2 separate regions of the Homo sapiens genome follow, and region 1 is linked to region 2. Evidence: promoter capture Hi-C in 16 types of primary human blood cells and fetal thymus (Javierre and others, 2016). All regions are on one chromosome and are shown on one strand. The core of a region is centred on a gene start or on the middle of the fragment in contact, and the rest is flanking DNA. Distances in the headings are between cores, read along the strand shown.

What was found. Contacts are between HindIII fragments. The CHiCAGO score rates a contact against its expected background, and 5 or more counts as called.
Region 1: a fragment that was not itself captured here is called in contact with the fragment with the promoter of SLTM in region 2 in 9 of 17 cell types (activated CD4 T cells, non-activated CD4 T cells, total CD4 T cells and 6 more); the score reaches 8.2 in activated CD4 T cells.

Annotation. Positions count from the first base shown.
Region 1 is chr15:59,473,306-59,478,487 of GRCh38, reverse strand. The region is part of intron 3 of FAM81A (family with sequence similarity 81 member A); the gene reads right to left. Among named protein-coding and RNA genes, the nearest start is that of FAM81A, 38 kb to the right of the region's middle. The HindIII fragment of the contact is 6,137 bases long and covers 590-5,182 here.
Region 2 is chr15:58,931,179-58,936,061 of GRCh38, reverse strand. It overlaps SLTM (SAFB like transcription modulator), which reads left to right and starts at 2,383. Exons shown (of 21, transcript NM_024755.4): 1 at 2,383-2,658; 2 at 3,619-3,706. The coding sequence starts at 2,497. RefSeq lists enhancers at 1,937-2,026, 2,047-2,186, 2,477-2,716 and silencers at 2,217-2,396, 2,767-3,026. The HindIII fragment of the contact is 26,250 bases long and covers 1-4,418 here.

The DNA.
Region 1 (5,182 bases), core at 2,409-4,908, 540 kb before region 2:
GTCCTGTATGTTAGTCCGACTACATGTTAACATCACTGTCTACGCCCCTGCTTTCCCATGTTAGTAAAGCCCAATGCTGCACTCATCGCTCAAGTTCAAAAACTCCAGTAGTCCTTTTGCAAATTATTAAACTAGCAAACTACGTATGATATATTCAATTAGATGAGGGCTTGATACAGTTTCCCATAACCCAACTAGGTTAAAGCCAACATTCCAAGCCAGAAGGACATCATGAAGTTGAGCACATGGGAACTAAAGTAGGTCCGCAGATTCTAACCAGCCAGGTGGCAGACCCCACTGCATGGTTCCCAAAGGCCAGAGACACAGCTAAAGCCATAAAAAGACATGGGGGTCCAAACTACTACCCCCAGCCATCAAACTGGCATGGAAAGGAAAGCTTACCACCAATAAAAGGACCACGGACTGCTCACCAGGGCTCGGCTTCCAGGGACCGATAACGGCTTAAACCAAAGACAGTATGGATAACCCAGACATGTATAATTCATAGTTGACTATATTACTTCCTCTAAATTTATAATGATGATGATCATTGGTGGAAAGTTTCTGAGGAATAAATAATTGATAAGCTTCTCCATATCACAAGGCAAACCGCTAACAGACACTGTGGATGGAGATGTATTAAAACAATAAATTCTTCCATTCAACATTTATCAAGCACTTACTGTGTATTAGTATACAAGAGTCATCTGTTTTGACACTGGTATCTGCTGAAAGAATATAAGCAATAATTATAGGGTTCTGGAAGGGGCAAGGAGACCCAGAGCTCTTGATTATGAAACATTTATTGAGCTCCTACTATGTCTTAGACATTGGTAGGTGTTGAAAATAGAAATATTAAGACTCTGTTCTAGCTCTTGAGGATCACATAGGGTAATGGTTTGAAAACATATTTTACTTTTTTTCCAGTGTATAACTGTTCAGAGTCACATGACAGAAAATCATAAAGACTTATCTAGGCAAATTTGCCAAGATACAGTGTTAATATATCTCGATTTGACTAGTTCTATCAGGGTCTAGCAGTAAGTTTCACATCTTAAGAATGGCTTCAGCTTTACTTTTGTAATATAAAATCACCTGCAGGGATGATTCTCAAAAATCAAATAACCCAGTAAAATTTTACTGCGTGAACTGAAAAACAGCTATAAACCAGCAATAATAATAATAATAAAAACTCAGGCAATTTACAGAAGATATTCTTCAAGAATCTATAAATAAAAAATACACCTTTTACATCATTGAAATACAATTTAAATATCTTCACACCTCTGTTTTAAAACTGATACTACAAGTATGAGGTTATTTTGTTCTTTGTTTTGTTTTCTGTTTGTTTTTGCTTTTTTTTTTTTTGAGTCAGAGTCTCACTCTGTTGCCCAGGCTGGAGGGCAGTGGCACGATCTCGGCTGACTGTAACCTCCGCCTCCTGGGTTCAAGTGATTCTCCTGCCTCAGCCTCCCAAGTAGCTGGGGTTACAGGCACCTGCCACCACACCCAGCTAATTTTTGTATTTTTAGTAGAGATGGGGTTTCACCATGTTGGCCAGGCTGGTCTTGAACTCCTGATCTCATGATCTGCCCACCTTGGTCTCCCAAAGTGCTGGGATTACAGGTGTGAGCCACCACGCCCGGCCAAGTATCAGTTTTATATTATGCCCACTCTCCCAATTTATTTATTTATTTAGAGATGGAGTCTTGCTCTGTCAGCCAGGCTGGAGTGCAGTGGCATGATCCTGGCTCACTGCAACCTCCACCTCCCAGGTTCAAACAATTCTCCTTCCTCAGCCTCCCAAGTAGCTGGGATTACAGGCACATGCCATCAGGCCCAGCTAATTTTTATATATATTTTTAGGAGAGATGGGGTTTCATCATGTTGGCCAGGCTGGTCTCGAACTCCTGACCTCAAGTGATCCACCCACCTTGTGGATCCCACACCCAAAGTGATGGGATTACAGGCGTGAGCCACCGTGCCTGGTGCCAATTTTTATATTACTTATAAATGAAGACTTCCTTTTAGTACTTTTTAAATTTACTCTACATCATTGTTACGGACTGAATGTTTGTGTCCTCCAAAAATTCATATGTTCACCAAGCGTGGTGGCTCATGCCTGTAATCCCAGCACTTCGGAAGACCAAGGCAGGAGGATTACTTGAGCCCAGGAGGTTGAGGCTGCAGTGAGCCATGATCATACCACTGCATTCCAGCCTGAATGACAGAGCAAGACCCAGTCTAAAAAAAAAAAAAAAATTGTAGGTTAAACTCCTAACCCTTGATGTGATGGTATTAGGAGGTGGGGCCTATAAGAGGTGATTAGGTCATGAGGGTAGAATCTTCACGAATGGGATTAGTACCTTAAAAGAAGGTCTTGCTTCTGCTCTCTACTTTCTGCCATGCAAGGATACGAAAAGACGACCATCTACAATTCAGGCAGCAGGGTCTCACCAGACACTGGATCTACCAGCATTTTGATCTTGGACTTCCCAGTCTCCAGAATCATGAAAAAGAAATTTCTGTTGTTTAAGCTACCCAGTCTATGGTAATTTGTCATAGCAGCCTAAACTAAGACAATCATGATTTCATTTTAATGAAGTTTGGCTATAAGACAGCAATTCTGATCTGTCATCAAGCATCCTAACATGTTTAGGTAGACATGCTTAAGTTCATAATACATATAAATCAATATAATTAGTGTTTCACATTGGAGTCTTAAATTTTTAAACTTCCTTGTTGTTACTTTGTCATTATATATAGTTACTACCAGTTACAAAAAAAGTAAACACTCAAATACAAACTAAATTTTTTGCCAAATTTAGATTTTACTCAGTTTTCCCTGTCTATCACGGAAATCATCACTTGCAAAATTGCACACTCCAAAAATACATGTAAATATAAAAGAGTGCTGTCTGGTTAAGGCAAGAATAACCATTACATAAAATGTGTTTCGGACGTTGGGAAAACAGCAAAATTGAAATTACTTTCTCACTGCATTGTAAATTTTTCAAAAATCATCTTAAAGAAACATGTTTAGGCCAGGCATGGTGGCTCATGCCTATAATTCCAGCACTTTGGGAGGCCATACATAACTGGTTGGTCACTTGAGGACAGGAGCTCAAGACCAGCCTGGCCAACATGGTGAAACCCTGTCTCTACAAAAATACAAAAATCAGCCGGGTGTGGTGGTGTGCCTGAAATTCCAGCTACTTGGGAGGCTGAGGCATGAGAATCACTTGAACCTGGGAGGCGGAGGTTGCAGTGAGCTGAGATCACACGACTGCACTCCAGCCTGGGTGAGGGAGTGAGACCTTGTCTCAAAAAAAAAAAAGGTTTTGGAAAAAATAATTATCAAAAGCCTAAACAATTGATGACTTCAGATTCCTTAGGCAGATTTTTTGATACAGCTGATTATTGAAGCAATTCAAGTGATCTCTCATCAAAGCAAGGATGGGTCAGGGGAGAACTCAGTGAGAACTAAAGCTAGAATTATCTAGTTTCATAAACAAGTTCTTCCTGAAACTCAGAAAGCAAAGAATGGCTGAATAGCACAGCCTGTCACATTTGAGAGTCGATTATAGAAGATCAGGTTCTAGAAGAGCTTCTAAGAGGTAAAGTAGAAAAGAGAAAAGAGCATATTTTTGGAGTTTTGCCACATGGGTTTATTCTCAGCACTGCCACTAACTGGCCTTGATACCTCAGGCCACTTCACTCAGCCTATCTGAAAAGGATGTTCTTTGCATTGATAACCTCATAGTCTCTTCTAGTCCTTTTTGCTACCAGCATATCTACAACTGGCTTCACTCTGTATTGGGCATTTATTCACTTAATAAGTATTTGCTGAGGTTTGAATGATGGCACCCCCTCCAAAAATTATGTTGAACTTAATCCCCATTGTGGTGGTATTAAGAGGCGTGGTATTTCAGGAGGTGATTAAGTCATGAGGGCTCCACCCTGAATGGACTGGGGCCCTTATAAAAAGGGTTTATGGGAGGAGGTCCACTCTGTTCAATCCTTTTGCAATGTGAGGACACAGGATTCATCATTCTTGCCCTTCCACCTTCTGCCATGTAAGCATGCAGCAAGAAGACCCTCACCAGATGCCAAATGCCAGTGCCTTGGGCTTGGACTTCCCAGCCTCCAGAACTGTGAGAAATAAATTTCTGTTCTTTATAAATTACCCAATCTCAGGTATTTTGTTATAGCAACACAAATATACTATGACAGCATTCACCGCATTTTGCTCCAAATATTGTACTAGACAATGCAAAGATGAGGAAGACAAGGTTCCTCTCTTTTTGAGAGGCTTGTAAAGTAACAATGTTAGTCCTATTCAATAAATGCTATAGTAAGAGTGGCACGAGTTCAGTGTCCAGGATACACTGAGGGAAAGGAAACTGGGGGCATGAGAGGAACTGGCAAGGAGGGCTTCCTAAAATGAAGGAACTGTTAAATAGCATCAGTGGCCCAGCTGAAGTTGGAAATTATGTATTTAAAATGGTTCTGGCTGGGCACTGTAGCTTATGCCTGTAATCCCAACACTTTGGGAGGCCAAGGTGAGAGGACTGCTTGGGCCCAGGAGTTCAAGACCAGCCTGGGCAACATAGCAAGACCTTGTCTCTAAAAAAATAAAATAAAATAAAGTGGTTCTGGCCACTGGAGTAGTACGTGGCAGCTACCAAATAGGAAATTATTCCCTGGATCCGACAGTTGCAGCTAAAACACTATCACCTCTTACGTTGACAGAAAAAATTAAGACCAGGATTTCTTAAGGGTAGAGTTATACTGTGCTTTTACCTGGAGGGGACGGTAATGTCAGAATAGACTGACTCCCATCTCTAGTCTTCCCCCACCCCCGTAAGCAAAGGGAACAGAGCTGAGTTCCCACAGGAAAGTGCTGGGTATTCTAAGAATGGGGAAGTAACAGTATTTTCTAATGTGAAACATGGGAAAAGTTTGTATTTTTTGTAACATACCCTGGCACCCTCTTATCTGCAGGGGACACGTTCCAAGACTTCCTGTGGATGCCTGACACTGCAGATAGTACCAAACCCTACATATACTATGTTTTTTTGATCTGATAATCAAGACATCTACTAAGTGACTAACGGGCAGGTAGCATATACAGTGTGGACAAAGTAGTGATTCACGTCCCACCCAGGCCGGGTGGTGAAAG
Region 2 (4,883 bases), core at 1,134-3,633:
GATGTTTCAAGGTAGGAAAGGTTTAAAAGCCTGTTCGGGCTAGGTGTGATGGCTCACGTCTGTAATCCCAGCACTTTGGGAGGCTGAAGCAGGAGGATAGTGTAAGACCAGGAATTTGAGACCAGCCTGGGCAACATAGTGAGACCCTGTCTCTACAAAAAAAAAAAAAAAAAAAAGAAAAGAAAAGAAAAATTAGCTGGGTGTGCTGGCATGCTACTTGAGAGGCTGAGGGGGAAGGATCACTTGAGCCCAGGAGTTTGAGACCAGACTGGGCAACAACGTGGTGAAACCCTGTCTCTACAAAAAATACAAAAATTAGCCAGGCATAGTGGCAGGCGCCTGTAGTCTAGCTATTCAGGAGGCTGAGGTGGGAGGATCACTTGAGCCTGGGAGGTTGAGGCTGCAGTGAGCCATGATCACGCCACTGCACTCCAGTCTGGGTGACACAGTGAGACCCTGTCAAAAGAATAAAAATAAAAACAAAAACAAAAAAAAGAGAGAGTGTAACTGTAAGTTCCCAGATAAATCTCTTAAAATCTTGAGGGCTGGGCCAGAAGATTTTTTTTTCTTTTTTTCTTTTTGAGACGGAGTCTAGCTCTGTTGCCCAGGCTGGAGTGCAATGGCGTGATCTCAGCTCACTACAACCTCCGCCTCCTGGGTTCAAGCGATTCTTCTGCCCCAGCCTCCCAAGTAGCTGGGATTACAGGTATGCACCACCATGCCCGGCTAATTTTTTGTATTTTTAGTAGAGATGGGGATTCACCATGTTGGCCAGGCTGGTCTTGAACTTCTGACCTCTAGTGATCCACCCACCTCAGCCTCCCAAAGTGCAGGGATTACAGGCATGAGCCACAGCACCCAGACTTTTTTTTTTTTTTTGAGACAGGATCTTGCTCTGTTGCCCAGGGTGGAGTGCAGCGGCCGGATCTCACTGCAACCCCTGCCTTCCGGGTTCAGGTGATTCTCCTGCCTCAGTCTCCCGAGTAGCGGGGATTACAGGTGCTCACCACCACACCCGGCTAATTTTTGTATTTTTTGTAGAGACGGGGTTTCTACTAAACCCTGTATCTTGGCCAGTTTGGTCTTGAACTCCTGACCTCAAGTGATGGGCCAGAAGATTTCTAAGGAGTCTTGCATTCTAAACTTCTATTATTGTGAATCCAATGTTGTAGCAGAGACAGAGCTGGATTTGGAATCAGGAGCCTGGGATTTGAGCACAGCTCGGCCACATACCAGCTGTGTGAACATGGGCAAGTCATTTAATCTCTCTAAGCCTCACGGAGATTTACTTGACAGACTTGGGAAGGATTAAGGGGGTTACTGTACGTCAAAGTGCCTTATAAACTGTAAAGAACTACCCTAATGTCAGGTATTCTTTTATAATGTCCAGTCTTCCTTTTTTTTGAGCCAATCAGAAAAAGTAACCTAAAGTGAGTCAGATCTCAGGAATTTAAGTTGTAAAACCAGGAAATACAGTATAGTTAATTGTGCATCATAATCACCTTATGGAATTTATAGAATCGTTTTATTTTATCAATGCTTGCACTTTGATAATGAATAATACAAGGTAAAATTACAAATAGGTACTCACTTGTACAGGCCGATCCTCCATAAGAAGATGCTCACTGTTCTTGGAATCCCAAATTTTGGGGGGCAAAATAGTGAACACAGTATATGATAACGGCAACAAGTACTTATAAGCTAGTTTTCTCTTTCATTGAACAATTTCGTGTTGAGCCATCAGGTCTACCGGGGAGGATAGCAAACCTGAGGCCAACAAGAAAGAAGTTTTCCTGTTTTTCAAGTGAGGAAGGGCAGCCCTAGAATAACCTAAGCTGCCATGGGCAGGGCGATGATGTTTTCTCCTGAGACAGCCAATGAGCCATGTGTCAAAGGCCAGCCCTTCCTATTCTTTGGACTAACAGCCCTAGAACTGCTTTGAGGTCTTTTGAATGGAACTCGGGGAACCTAGTTCGTTGGTGCACACCGGCGACAATTTTTCGATTATTCAGCAGAACTGATAAAGTATTTCCTTGAGAGGTTCAGCGCGCGCACGCGCCCCCTCGGTTTGTGTTGAGTAACGCGCGCACTATGTCATTCAGTGCCCGCACATCGTTGTTGCTCAAGACTCAAGACGTTGCAAGAAAATGGCTAACGAAGCGACGAGAGAACGGCGGCGCGGCGGACGTTGCTGCGGTAGGACGTGCCCGACCTCCCAGTCCACACAAGGGAGCGCACCGCCCAAGTGGCCGCGGCCCGCTCGACCGAGCGCGCCGCTGCCGGTCCCTGCGCCAACGCGCACGCGCGGCCGTCATCCGGGTGCTGGCGGCTGCTGCTGCAGGTTGCGCTAGGGTGGCGGACCGGGGGAGGGGCCAGCGGCTCATTGTGCGCAGCGCTGCGCGGCGCCGGCGGCCGCCGAGGCCTGGGTGGAAGTTGGCGCTGCTGCCGCCGCCCTGCAGCCCACTCGCTGCCTCGGCAGCGCGCTGCTCTTCTAAGATGGCTGCCGCTACCGGTGCGGTGGCAGCCTCGGCCGCCTCGGGTCAGGCGGAAGGTAAAAAGATCACCGATCTGCGGGTCATCGATCTGAAGTCCGAGCTGAAGCGGCGGAACTTAGACATCACCGGAGTCAAGACCGTGCTCATCTCCCGACTCAAGCAGGTGAGGCCCGGCGAGGACCGGAAAGGACCGGGAAGGGGAACTTAGGCCGCGCCTCGGCGCCCCGCTTCCGCCGCAGCCTCCGGCTGCCCGCAGCCGCTGGGACCTGCGGAACGGCATGGTAGGGAGGCCAGGGGCGGCTCCCGCGAGCGTGGAGGACGGGGACCCTTCCGCGGTGCCCCCGCCCCGCGCCCCGGGCCGGGCCGGGCCTGCGAGGGACCGGCCACCGCAGCCCAGCGTGCCTCCGCCTCCCCGGGACGTCCCCGCCAGGCTGCGAGGGTTGCGGCCGGCCGGCGCGGCCTCCCAAGGGCGATCGCGGAGACCTGGGAGGCGCTGGCTCCCCAGCCTTTAGCCATGGTGAGCGTGTGCATTTCTTGGCCTCAGAGGGAATGGTTACTTTGGTGACTTCTGCGAAGTTACCGTTTAATTGTGCCCAACCGTTTCTTCCCCATCTTGAGGGGGAATTGGTAGTGGGAGTTGATGGGTGGGTGACAGAGTTTTTGTTTTCCACTAGGCTTTTAGTTTTTGCATCAGCGCAATAATTACTTTTTCTTTCCTGATTAGCTTTCTGGTTTGAGTGAGCGTTGGAATTGTAGCAGAGGAGCAGTAAGTTTGCATTACAGAAACTAGGAAAACTCTTTTTAGTTATTTACTTTAGTAGCTAGCAACTTTTCTGCAATAGAACATATTTGGATTTTTGGCCAGTATGATGTGATATTTAATTATCTTGACACGGTAGAATTTAAAACTCCTTGCGATTTTGATACCTAATGATTTTTTTCCCCTGAAAGTTTCTCTCACTCTTTCGTGTAGTTTAATTGCTCATTTTTGAAGTCGGTTGATGAAATGACTGGCAATTCTAATGTCTTGAGGCTTGAGGTTTGCTAAATTTTTTTTCATTTCGTTTTTATAAAATAAGTTTAGATAGATTGTGTAGCATATTAACTTCTCTTTCTAATGTAGGCTATTGAAGAGGAAGGAGGCGATCCAGATAATATTGAATTAACTGTTTCAACTGATACTCCAAACAAGAAACCAACTAAAGGCAAAGGTTGTTACGAGTTATGAACATGTTTTAAAATATATTTTGGTTATATAACTTGCCTCTGCTCTTGTGCCTCTTGCCCTGTTTATATAGTGCTACTCTTTGCTATTTCCCTCTGGCAGTCTGCCTTCTTGGGTCAAGGAAGAAAAGTTACTGTTGCCAGGCTTTGGGTGACTTGTAGCCCTTAAGATTCGGCTGAAGCTGATTAGAAAGTGAGAACAGTTCTTTATTGCTTCCGGAAAAAATTACAAAGTCAAGTTGTGTAATGATGCTTCATAGTGTGAAGACCTGAATAAAATACAGTTTAACACATGTCTACCTTGCCCCACAATTGGCAGAGTTTTGATGGAATTCCTACCAAATCTTTTACCTTGCCTCCTTGCTGTTTTCTTTAGTATATTAAAATTCTATAACCTTTATGTTTAGTACTTTGTTTGACTTGGTGAACTTAATTTGCATTTATGCCATTATACCTCCTAATTTTTAGTGAAATTCAAAAAGACCTCACCAATCATACTAACAAGGTAGAGGGAAAAATCCATGATTAATTAGCTTAAAAAAGTTTTAAATTATAGGGATGTTAAAGATTCTTATTTTTAACTTTTAAGCTAGAGCAAAATATATTTATTTCTAGGATATAATGATTTAGTGACTAGCTAAAAGTGGTTTTAAATGAACGTTTTGCAGTATGAATGGAACTTAGGTATTTTTTAAAGCTTCTTGGTAAATGAAACCTTTATTTGAATAACTGCAAATTTCTCCCTCCTATAAGGACAGTGGCAGAGGGTGGACATGATATATCTGGATTCTGGTCTTTACCTACAATTTTCATGCAGAGTTTGTCATGAACAGCTGCTGCATTTTTTGTAATCTAATTTTCTTTACTGCTTTAAGTGATCCAAGTGTTACTCCCAACCACTGAATGATTGCAACTAAAATAAAATGAATGGATTAATATTGAAAAGGGAATATTAAATTTTGATCTTAAGCACACCTGGGTATCAGAGATGAGGACAACTCACTATTTTAAGTCTTCCTAGGTTAGGAGAGTCCCCTGTTTGTGCCAAAGGAAATTGAAAAGGGCTAATAAGCATTCCCTGGGAGAGGTGGGGATGTAGTTTAGAGAAGTAAAAAAGTTATCTTAAAGGTAGCTTTTAAGATAACTCTGACTCAGTGTATCACT